Linked DNA regions of Homo sapiens: region 1 is linked to region 2. Evidence: promoter capture Hi-C in human tissues and cell types (Jung and others, 2019). All regions are on one chromosome and are shown on one strand. Each heading gives the region's core, a stretch centred on a gene start or on the middle of the fragment in contact. The rest is flanking DNA. Distances are from core to core; before and after follow the strand shown. Region 1 has its middle 16 kb from the start of ATP6V0E2. Region 2 holds the start of RARRES2 (retinoic acid receptor responder 2).

Region 1 (6,163 bases), core at 2,651-5,150, 450 kb after region 2:
TGTATTATTTTATGTACTCATTGACATTGTCTTTTCTGTGAGCACCCTTCACCCCACATGGAGCCCTAACAATGAAAATTTACTTGTGTGTATATTAGGATATTATCCCTTTTGATCATTTAAATAGATATGGATAGTGATAGAAATCTGTGTGTGTGTGTGTTTTTTTAAGGTATTGCCATCAGAGAGTCAGCAAAGGTAGTTGACCAAGCCCAAAGGAGAGTGTTGAGGGGAGTTGATGACCTTGACTTTTTCATAGGAGATGAAGCCATCGATAAACCTACATATGCTACAAAGGTAAATTTCCGACAGGTGTCTGCTTCTCTAAGTGTAGAGCAGTAGGATGAGTAATGCAAAATGGTCATCTAGAAGTTGTATTTGCGAGTTGTAGAATGTGTTTCTATTCTTATGTTTGAATTCTTATGTTTGAATAGAGGTGGTGGTGATGGTTGGTTTTGAATGGGGGTATTTTTGATTGGAGAATTAAGGGAATTAACAGATCCCTGGAATGCAGAATAGACTCAGGAAACACCAGGTCACACATGAAAGCAAGATCCCCTCCCCTGGAAAATTGTTGACAGGTTGACTAACCTGTCAGATGAGGGAAAATTGCAGATTGGTTAATTAAAAAGAAACACTAACGTTATTTAAGCAGACTTTTTTTTTTTTAAAGCTCCAGATCCAATTGTATGATAATTAGCTGCAGTTTTCTATCGGTTCCTCATTGTATTTTTTGTTGTTTTTTTAGAGATAGGTCTTACTCTGTCATCCAGGCTGGAGTGCTGTGATGCCGTCTTGGCTCACTGCAGCCTCGACCTCCTGAGCTCAAGCAATCCTCTCACCTCAACTTCCCAAGTAGGTGGGACTACAGGCACGCACCACCATGCCTGGCTGATTTTTTAATTTTTTGTAGAGACAGTGTCTTGCTATGTTGCCCAGGCTGGTCTCGAACTCCTGGGCTCGGGTGAGCCTCCTGCCTTGGCCTCCCAAAGCGTTGGATTAGAGGCGTGAGCCACTGTGCCTGGCCTGCCTCCGTGTCATTGTTAAGGTGATTCTTTGTTTGTGGAAATGAGTGGAGGAGAATATGAACAATAATGTAACTTAATCTTTTTTTTCCAAATGCTGTTGTTTCTTTACAAGAATTAACAACAACTGCAATGAGAAGGAGACCTTTATTCTTAATAATACAGTTTCTTCTGTGCCACTGTTAAACTGTTGCTCTTATTGTTGCGAACTGAGGCTTGACAACTCTGGTGTCTCTTCCTCCAGTGGCCGATACGACATGGAATCATTGAAGACTGGGATCTTATGGAAAGGTTCATGGAGCAAGTGGTTTTTAAATATCTTCGAGCTGAACCTGAGGACCATTATTTTTTAATGGTGAGTAACTGGAACTAAGAGGAATATATTCCTGTAAATTCCAAATTGCTTAGATTTTAAACTGAAGATATTCTTTTCTAGGGCGTTTTAAATTTCTTCTAAAGATATGTGCATGAATCAGGCTGCTTTTTTGAAAATAAAGCTCAATAAAAACGTTCAGAACAAAAAGGGGCTTGTTAGCTCACCAAACAGGAAGCCCAAGTGAGGCAGCTCTAGGGCTGTTGTTTTAGCAGCTCAGTGATGGAATTGCACATGCAGCCTAGGGCACTAGCTGGAGCTCTTCTGTTTGTTCCCCCTGGGTCCAGGGTGGCTGCCAAATTCCTAGATCACCTCTTTGGACATTTCTATACAGAGATAGAAGATTTCCCTTGCACTTTTTAAGAATTTAGAGACCCTTTCCCAGAAACCTTCCCAGCACATTTGCCCCATCTGCCTATGCCTAACCTGGTTAGAGCAATAGGAATGGATTTACTGTGACTGGTTTAGATTCTTGAAGACTTTCTCCTTGGTGTGGGGACCAGGAGAACTTGTCTGATGTTCTGGACCCTGGAGGAGGGTAAGTAGCTAAACAGGCCTCCAAAAGCAAGGACAATAGAAGGAGGAATGGATTTGGATAAACCAACTGCCTACTTTAGTTTTCTTGAGACATAGCAAGATGATTGTAATTATTGCCACTTATAGCAGAGGAAACCAGGTCAAGATGTTGTTTTTTTCTAGGGTTTAAATGTTACTGTAAAATAAAACTGAACTGAGTTATGGGCCCTAATTATATACTTAACTGATTTCATTCAAATGAAATGAAACATCACAGATAAATGAGAAGAAATATCTCCTCGTTCTCTAGTGGTTCTACTCAACATTACATGTTTTCTTCCGTGAGATGCTCTTTTCATCAAGTTAAAATTAATTATATGTACAGAATGCTTGCTTTATAGAGGGCAGTTTCATGTGACGTAAGCTGCGTATTAAACCTGCATAATTTAGGTTTGGATTTTTTTTCATGCAAGTACATTGTCAAATGGTCCCAGATCCAATTATAAAATTCTTTCTGATGTTAGGATATGAAGTGTTTTTAAGAATTATCTGGTATAAGAAATATTTGAACTATAAGGCTAATAGTTATTGGAATAACTATTAAATATGGAATAACTCTATAACGAATATATGTATTTAATGTATATTAAAGCCAGTCTTTGATTTTTTTTCCCTGGCTGTGTCTTCACAGCTGAAATTGCCAAGTATGGCCACTGCGTTTCACAGGCCACTCTGTTTTCTCTGTACATCCACAGTGGTTTATTTTATTTTACTGTTTTGCTCTGTATTTTATTTTTCTAGAAATGGGATCTTGCTCTGTTGTCCAGGTTAGAGTTCTGTGGCACAATCCTAGCTCACTGCAGCCTCGGACTCTGGACTCAGTTGATCCTCCCGCTTCAACCTCCTGAGTAGCTCGGACCACAGGTAGAAGCCACTAGCCTGGCTAATTTTTAAAAATTTTTTGTGGAGATGGGGTGGGGTTGCCTCCATTTGCACCCCTACTTACATTTCCCCCATCCTCTCCAGCCTTTTGTGCTGGCAGACATAACTTGCCCATCTGATGAGTATGAAATGTCTCATTGTGACTTTAATGTACATTTCCCTGATTACTAATGGGGCTAAGTATATTTTTCACCTACTGACTGGCCTCTCAAGTTTCCCTCCTTGTGAGTTGCTGGGAATATACATGCCAATTTTTCAACTGTATTTTTTAGATTAATTTGTCAGTGTTGTTTATATAATCTGGATGCCAATCTTTCATAAATATGTACCACAGCGATCTTTTCCCAGCCTGATTTAGAAAATTTTTCCCTTTTCTGATGTCAGGAAGTCATTTTCTTATGATTTACTTTAAACACTTTGACATTTTGCTCTTTGGGGTTAGGTCTTTGACCTTCCTGAAATTTGTTTCTGTGCATGATCTAAGGTAGGGCTGCAGTTCTTCTTTTGTGAAGTAAGAGTTCAAATTTGCCCACTTTTAAAACTTAGGTTTGTCATGTTGTTTAAGTATGAGTTCTTTATATATTCAAGATACAAGTCTTGACAGATATATGCTTTACAAATAGTTTCTTCCAGTTTGTGGTTTGCTTTTCATTTTTTTAACAATGGTTTTTTTTTAATTTCTTTTTATTATTTTTTATTTTTTTTTCAGGTGGAGTTTCACTCTTGTCGCCCAGGCTGGAGTGCAGTGGCGTGATCTCAGCTCACTGCAACCTCCGCCTCCCAGGTTCAAGCGATTCTCCTGCCTCAGCCTCCCAAGTAGCTGGGATTACAGGCGCTCACCACCACGTCCGGCTACTTTTTGTATTTTTAGTAGAGACGGGGTTTCACCACGTTGGCCAGACTGTTCTCGAACTCCTGACCTCAGGTGATCCACCCGCCTTGGCCTCCCAAAGTGCTGGGATTACAGGTGTGAGCCACCACGCCCAGCAACAATGGTTTTGAAGAGCAGAAGGAGAAATGAGGCTGTCTGATCTTGCCCTCTCTCCCCACTTCCTCCTTCCTTCCCTGTTCCTGGCACTAGATTCACTAGGATTAGGGGAACTTGTAGCCAAGAATATATAAAGAACTTCTATAAATCAATAGGGAAAAGACCAAAAAAAGTCATAGAAAAGCAAGCCAATGATTTGAGTAGGCAAATTAGAGAAGTGGAAACCGAAATGTCCAATAAACAGGTGAAGAGTCAAGCTTAGCAGCTATTAGGGAAATGCAAGTTAAAACCAACTACCATCCAGGTGCTGTGGCTCATGCCACAAGGTTGGTTGAGTGTAAATTGAAACAATCATTTTGGAGAGAAATTTGGCAATCTCTTGTAATATTAAAAGCTCTTTGACTCCTAGATATATATCCTAGAGAAGTTCCAGCAAATGTGCACAAAGACATATAAAAGATGCTTACTATTTGTTAATCTGGAAGTAACACAGGGGTCATTAATAGGGGGGTGGACAAAGAAAGTGTATGTCACTAATGAACTAGATCTGTATGTAACAGTATTGTATCAGTCAGGTGTGCCGCAATAATGCTGCATGACAAAACACCCTAAAACTGACTTATAACAACAGGCATTTAATTTTGGCTAGTATGTCTGCATCAGCTGGCCTGTATTAGTCTGTTTTCACACTGGTGATAAAGACACACCTGAAACTGGGGGGAAAAAAAAAGATTTAATTGGTCTTACAGTTCCACAAGGTTGAGGAGGTCTCAGAATCATGGCAGGAGGCAAAAGGCACTTCTTACATGGCAGCGGCAAGAGAAAAATGAAGAAGCAAAAGCAGAAATCCCTGATAAATCCAACAGATCTCTTGAGACGTATTCACTATCACAAGAATAGCATGGGAAAGACCAGCCCCCATGATTCAATTACCTCCCCTGGTCCCTCCCACAACACAGGGGAATTCTGGGAGATACAATTCAAGTTGAGATTTGGGTGGGGGCACAGCCAAATCATATCATGGGGTTTGGCCAGTCTAGCCCAGGATTGGCTCGACTTGGCTCGGGTCATTTTGTGATTAGTGTGCTCCTCACATTTCACCTTTTCTGGGCCCAGTAGGCCATCCAGGACATGTGCAAGCCAGCGACACTATGGGCAGCTCTGGGAGCCAGTTTATATACCAACTCCTGATGGTACGTCCAGCCTGCTGCCCAGGAAGGAAGCCAGTGCTGGCACCTGGAAGGCGCCTGGCGTGTATGGGAGCACCAAGAGCATGGGGAGATGCACTGCAGCAGGCAGCACAGACCTACAGTCTGTTATCACAGTCTCGCTCTCTGTAATAAGCAGGTTAATAAGGTAATAAGGAGGTTACATTGCTGTTTGAATTTGCTTTCCTTGACTAAGCATCTCTTCATGCTCAAAAGTCTTTTACATGTCTTCTTCTGTGAATTCTTTTGTGTCATTTGCTCATTTATCTACTTGTATGGTTTTTGCCTTGAAGAAAATGTAAATTTTAACTTAGTTAAATGTATAAAGTTTTATCTTCATAGCCTCTGGATTTCTTTTTTTCTTTCTTCCCCTGAGATAGACCTTCCCTATTACATGATAATTTTAAAAATTCTCCAATTTTTTTCTAGTACATTTATAGTTTCTTTCCATTTTGTATGTGTTTTGCTGCTGGGACTCTGGACACTGTTCATTGCCCTACTCATCTCTTCCTTATGTATTTGGTTTGCTATGTTTATCATATTCATTTTTTTTTTTTTTTTGAGTCAGTCTCGCTCTGTCGCCCAGGCCAGAATGCAGGAGCACAATCTCTGCTCACTGTAGCCTCAACCTCCTGGGCTCAAGTATTTCCCCTACCTCGCCTTCCTGAGTAGCTGGGACTACAGGCTCACACCTCTACACACACTCGACTACTTTTTGTATTTTTAGTGGAGACAGGGTTTCACTATGACGCCCAGCCTGGTCTCGAACTCCTGGGCTCAAGGGATCCGCCCGCCTTGGCTTCCCAAAATGCTAGGATTACAGGTGTGAGAAACTGTGTCTGGCTGTTTATCATATTCTTAATTCCTGATTGTAAATTTATTTCTGGACTTATTTTCTCCCCTTGAGTCGTCTGTGTGTTCATGTGCCAGCCCCACTGTTTGCATTTCTGTAGCCTTGCAAATGGTATCTTTATCTTAGACTTTTTAGTATCTGGAGTGCCAGTGTCCCTCTCAATACTCTGCTTTTCCAGGAATATCTTGGTTATTTCTTACATGTTTGTTTTTCCCAGAGGGCTTTAGAAACAGCATGCCAATTCTAGTATCTGCTTCC
Region 2 (6,278 bases), core at 3,642-6,141:
ACAGCTGTTCAAGCCAGAAACCTGGGATTCACCCCTCTCTGTTGACCTCGACCCCAACATCTTATCAATCACCAAACCCTGGTGCTTTAGTCCTGAGGTATTTCTGGACTTTGTTTTCCCATCTTCACTGCCTCCAGTTTTGTCCCTGCCACATTCGTCTCTCACCCGGACAATCACAATTATCTCCTGCTGAGATTTATTCCCTTTTATCCACTCTCCACACAGCAGCCAGAGTAAGCTTTCAGAAATGCTATTGGGACCAGGCGCGGTGGCTCACACCTGTAATCTCAGCAGTTTGGAAAGGTAAGGTAGGAGGATCACTTGAGCTCAGAAGTTCAAGACCAGCCTGGGCAACAAAACAAAACCTCCTCTCTCCTGAAAAAAAAAATAATAATAATAAAAACTAGCTGGGTGAGGTGGTCCTGTAGTTCTAGCTACTGGGAGGCTGAGGCAGGAAGATCAATAGAGCCTAGAACATGGAGGCTGCAGTGAGCTCTGATTATGCCATTGCACTCCAGCCTGGGCAACAGAATAAGACTTTGTCTCAAAAAAAGAGAAAAGAAAAGAAGACAAAAGAAAAGCTGTTGCTTTGCTTTCTGATTTTAAAAGTATTAAGGCCAAGCACAGTGGCTCAAGCCTGTAATTTCAGCACTTTGAGAGTCCAAGGTGGGTGGATTGCTGAACCTAGAAGTTTGAGATCAGCCTGGGCAATGTGACAAAATCCTGTCTCTAGAAAAAAATACAAAAATTAGCCTAGGATGATGGCATGCACCTGTGGTCCAAGCTACTTGGGAGGCTGAGGTGGGAGGATCGCTTGAGCACAGGAGGTTGAGGCTGCAGTGAGCCATGATTGAGCCACTGCTCTCCAGCTTGAACGACAGAGCAAGACCCTGTCTCAAAAAATAGTTTTTAAAGTTTTTTTATATTTTAATAGACAAATTATCCACAAGTTATAAAAATTTAAAAGTACAAAGGGAGTACAGTTTTCCTGCCTCTGTTTTCCCCAGCTGGACAGATCCTCTCCTCACAGGCAAACACTGTTATAAGTTTCTTGTTTTTCCCTTCTAGAAATATTCCATGCATTTACAAACACAAAAATTTGTTCATTTTTAGTTTTAGTTTTTACTCACATAATTGGTAACACATGCTCTGCCTGCAATATCCAATATGGTAGCCACCAGCCACAGGTTTAGGAACACTTGCCATGTGGCTGGTGTGACTGAGGTATTTATTGGAATGCTAAAACAAGAGATTGATGCTTCCAATGTTGCTTCATTTCACTTTAGGGTACATATTGAAGATATTTGTGCTCAGTTTTCTGAAATTTATTCTATGCAAGTCTCATGGCTACAGCCATTAAAACTAATTCCGTATTTAAGTGGAAATGCTATGAATCACTGCTGGTTTTATGGAACTGTTGAAAGCAATGAAAGATAATGAATTTAATGATCTTTTCTTTACCAAAGCTCATTGTCAGGGTTGTAGAAGAGTTCTCCTAAGATTTACTGTACTTTTAACTAACTCCAAGATTTTCTTGAGACAGAAGCCATGATTACCAAATATACAACAATAAGTATTATTATTATTTGTTTTGGGGACAAGGTTTTGCTCTGTGGCCAAGTCTGAGAGTGGTGGCTTGAGCCTATAATCCCAACACTTTGGGAGGCTGAGGTGGGAGGGTCATGTAGTGGCATGATCATAGCTCACTGCAACCTTGACTTCCCAGGCTCAAGTGATCGTCCCCCGCCAGCCTCCTGAGTAGCCAGGACTACAGACTTTTGCCACCACACTCAGCTAATTAAACTTTTTTTTTTTTGTAAAGATAGCCTCTCTCTATATTGCCCAGGCTGGTCTTGAACTCCTGGGTTCAGTGATCCACCCACCTTGGACTCCCAAAGTGCTAGGATTACAGGCATGAGTCACTACTCTCAACCCAAATATTCAATAATTAAAAATAAAAAAGTCAGTGTTTTCTCACCAATACCACACTACATATAAATGGGCTAAATTTGAATATCCAAGGAGATGAAACCTCATTTGTGACCTAGCCAGATAAATATAAGCATTTCAAATTAAATATTTTCATAATACTGACAAATAATTACAATCTACATACTTTTGTCACAAGAATCAACATACAGAGGTTTTAATTGTAATATACAGCATTGTGTAAATTGGCAAAATTTCAAGAAAAATGTGAAGAATTCTTAGTTGATATTGATAAATTTAGAATGGCTTTTGAATTTATGCAATATCATTTTTGAATTTATGCTAATGGTACCGAATTGACACAAGTTGGAAAATGTACTTAACTTCAATAGGTGTAGTTTTGCAACTGATATGCTCTTACTTCAAAGTCAAATCACTTCTTCTAAAAAAAACTATTTTTGTCAATGTGGTTGCAAATATTAAAGGACAATGTTTTTTGGTACTCAGTTCAGTTATTGGAAAACTAAGCTTGGAACAACTGGATACGTGAGTCTACTTTTTTAGCTGTCATGACCAGGAAGATCATTAACCATCATTAAATAGTGAAGTCCTGTTGTTGCTCCCCTGGACTGGGACATGTTACCTGGAGCTGAGCTCATGAATATGCCCTAAGTAGTCCTTTCACACATCCACACCTATGAGTGCTCTGCAGTAGGACTGTCCACCTCTTTGGGGTGCACCTCACATACCTACACCCAAAGTGAATTTTGTGTGGCCATTTAAGTATAGCCAGACTGGCTCCTTCCTCACCAACTCCCACCACCCTGCTCCCAACCTACCTCCCCACCTCAACTGCCTCACCTCCCCTGCAACAGACCTGATGCAACTTTCCCCCCAGCCCCCACCAAAGTCAGGATGAGTTTCCCGCTTTGCTCAGCTCAAGTCCTACCTTGTCCTGGAAGATTTCTCTCCTCACCCATCCTCAGGACGTCCCCCAGCATGGGTCTGTGGGGGCCAAAGGAAAACTTCCCCTTTGCCTTCTGAAGGTTTGCTGAAAAATCAACTGATGAAAGGCAGATTAATAGAATAAATTGATTCATTTATATTTTAGAGACAAGGTCTTGCTCTGTCCAGAGAGGCTGAAGTACAGTTTCATGATCAGAGCTCACTGCACCTTTGAACTCCTGGGCTCAAGCAATCCTCCTGCCTCGGCTTTAACAGGAAATATTTATTAACATACATGAGAGAGAACCACAAAGTGATTACCCCAACCCCTCAGTGGGATACAGAAGCTTATCCACCATCTTGAGTTTATACAAATATGGGGGCTCAGATAGTGGCAAGACAGGTTATGGAAGGGAGGGAAGAGGAGGCCTGGTTGGCAAAGGGAGTCTTGTTAGGTAGATGACACCTCACAGGTAGCAGCCCTCAGAAAGAACTGAGGGTAAATGTTTCTTTCAGATCTGTAAAGGTGTCAGCCTCTCAGTTAATCTTTCCTAGAGTTAGACAAGGGAGAGCCTCGGAGAAAGCCTGGCTACATCAATGCAGATTTCCTCTACAGATGCAAATCTCTCCACAAAAAGACAGCTTTTTGGTTATTCTATTTCCAACCATTCTGAACAGCCACCTTGAAATGTGTCAAAGAAGTATTTTTTGGGGTGAAATATTTTGGTTTCCTTCAAGTTCTTGGGCTGGGAAACATCTTTGGGTGCATCTTTTCTCTCTAACCCCATCTAAAGCTTTCAGGGAACACGGATCCCATCTCTTTCTGCTTAAGGGCGGCTGAGTAGCTCACAGCTGGGGAGTGAAGTACCCTAAGTAGTGGTGGGATTTCAGACACCTGGAAGTGGTTAATGGAAGCCGAGTTTCTTTCTGGTGCCCCCAGAGCACACTGTAAAGGAAATTCTCAGCTCTAAGTGGAGAATCCTGGTTAGGGGTGCGTAAGTAGGGGACAAAAGCCTTGTGCTCGGCACTGGACATCAGTTGCTTTTCATGTTTCTTCATTTAATCCTCAAAACAACTCCTTAAGACAGAGTTTCTGATCCCCATCTTACAGATAAAGAAACAGAAGTTCAGAGAGAGCCATGAAGTTACATGAGATCCTCTACTTCAGGTGATCCCTGCGGTGTGGGAACCAGAGGCATGGTGTTGGTGGTTACTGACGTGCAAAGTCTCAGAGCTTCTTCATCCTTGCTCCAGCGTACCCAGGAGTCGAGCCGGTATTTGGACAGTTTTCCTTGAGTTTCTGCTCACCTTATGAATTCCATCATGCCGTTCTGCCACACCCGAAGGCTCCCCCACTCCCCATGAGAATCTATCCCACGGAGAATGGGGCACGAGGAATGGTCAGGAAAGGCAGATGCAGGATACACACTGGACATCTTTGCTGTCGATCAAGGTTGCAGGCGCCAGAGTCCTCCCTAAAGGAGAGACCTTCCTTCTCAGTGTGGCTCAGGGAGTGGGAGGCAGGATCAGGTGTAGGGACCTCGAGGTCTCATTTGGTTTGAGAATGTCTGTATTTAGGGGAAGAAATCCCAGGATGAGTGTCTCAGGGACGCTGGGGAATGGTCCCCCGTAAAGGACCCAAGACAGGGCAGCCCTGCCTGGGTAGGAGTGGGGCACAGAAAGTCCTTGGGGGAGCAGAGCAGCGGAGAAGAGGCCCGGGCCGGCCGAGGCTGCGGAATGCTCAGGCCCGAGCCAGAGGGAGGTGGGACCGAGGGCTGCGCGCCTGGGCGAGCCGCCTGCAGCCGCGGCCAGGGTCAGGGTCATGAGGGCTGGATCGAGGGGAAGGAGGGGGGTGGGATGGGGAGGGAGGGCGCGGGAGGGCATCCCGCCCCAGAGGCCGGTCCCACTGGGGAGGGGAGGAGCCAGAGTTGCTGGAGGGGGTCCAGGAGGTGGGGGTGGGAGGAGGTGGGGGCCGCCCCGCGAGAAGAAGAGCGGGAAGAGGCGGACAGCGAGGCCAAGATTTCAGCTGCGGGACGGTCAGGGGAGACCTCCAGGCGCAGGGAAGGACGTGAGGAGGGGAAGCGGGCTGGGGCGGCAGCCGGGCGGAGGGGCAGCTGCGCAGGCGGAATGAGGAACGCCTTTGCTCTAAGGCGACCACCCTGGCAGCTCTTCACTGAGGGGCCTCGGTTTCCACATCTGTCGCTCTCCGGTCCCAAGACCACCAGGACCGACGGGGCTCTCCGGGAGGGTCAGCCCCTCCGGTGGCCCCAGTCATGCATCAGGGGACGGATCAGAAGGGCTAGGAAGAGGGGTCGTGGGGAAGGCCCCAGAAAAAAGAGGAAGGAGGGAAGATTTTGCCTGAAGCGGGAAAGCCAAGGGCTGGGCGGCGCGAGACCCCCATTCCTAGCGACTGGGGCTGGCTGGTGGCCCGCGGCAGCCCCCGCGCCGGGAGGATTAGGCCTCCCGCCGCTCCCACCCGTCCGGACCCTCCCACGTGTTTAGGTCCTCCCAAAAGTATTCGGCCTCCGGCCCCTGCCCCTTCCCCCGGCTGGCCTGGACCTCGGGGACGTGGGGGGAACCCCGTGGGAGCAGGGGGATTCTGGACGGGGAGGGAGTAGCGGTTGGGGAGAAGGCTGAGCGGGGAAAGGAGAGAGGGGCTCCGGGGACGGCAGGGAGGAGAGTGGGTCGTGCCGGAGACCCAGGGAGAGACACAATGGGCAAGATTAGGGGTGTAGGGTGGGAGTGCGAACTGACTGATTCCTAGCGTGGGCAGGGAACTTTGCTAAAACTGCAGGCCCCAGGGAACAGCGCGGGCAGGGTGGGAGGGAACGGAGAGGGCCAGGCGGACCCTAAGGTCAATTTGGAGAAAGGGCCATTTCCAGGCTCCTTCACCTGTGCCCAGCGTTCTACAGGCCTGGACCCCGCCCCCGCTCCCCACCCTCCCCCCAGAGCAGGGCGCGGGAGGAGGCGGCTCGGGCTGGCTCGGAGAGCTGAGGGGCGCACACCCGCTTCGCAGGGCCAGGGTGACACGGAAGCATGCGACGGCTGCTGATCCCTCTGGCCCTGTGGCTGGGTGCGGTGGGCGTGGGCGTCGCCGAGCTCACGGAAGCCCAGCGCCGGGGCCTGCAGGTGGCCCTGGAGGAATTTCACAAGCACCCGCCCGTGCAGTGGGCCTTCCAGGAGACCAGTGTGGAGAGCGCCGTGGACACGGTGAGTAGCATGGCCCGGGCAGGAGCGGGGAGGGTCGTACCCCAGGAGACCAGCGCATTCCCACGAAGGGGGACAGAAGTGCTTGGGCTCTGAGCCCCAGCCCTTTGGAGAAAAGGCCACTGTCCAGCCTGCTGGAATGTGACTGCGTGAGGGAGGTGCGGATCACACCAGGGCTTGCTCTGCACCCTCAGCTG

The links. The method cuts DNA at HindIII sites, captures the fragments that hold promoters and counts their contacts. A contact is called where the count stands out against the background at its distance.
Region 1: a fragment that was not itself captured here is called in contact with the fragment with the promoter of RARRES2 in region 2 in 1 of the 25 tissues and cell types used here (dorsolateral prefrontal cortex).

Annotation. Positions count from the first base shown.
Region 1 is chr7:149,886,408-149,892,570 of GRCh38, reverse strand. It overlaps a transcript of ACTR3C not described here. Among named protein-coding and RNA genes, the nearest start is that of ATP6V0E2, 16 kb to the right of the region's middle. The HindIII fragment of the contact is 4,672 bases long and covers 1,565-6,163 here.
Region 2 is chr7:150,340,242-150,346,519 of GRCh38, reverse strand. RARRES2 (retinoic acid receptor responder 2) reads left to right here and starts at 4,891. Exons shown (of 6, transcript NM_002889.4): 1 at 4,891-4,942; 2 at 5,891-6,084. The coding sequence starts at 5,911. LOC107986858 (a long non-coding RNA gene) reads right to left here and starts at 4,675. Exons shown (of 3, transcript XR_001745420.3): 1 at 4,183-4,675; 2 at 2,879-2,992. RefSeq lists a silencer at 5,783-5,852. The HindIII fragment of the contact is 2,199 bases long and covers 3,446-5,644 here.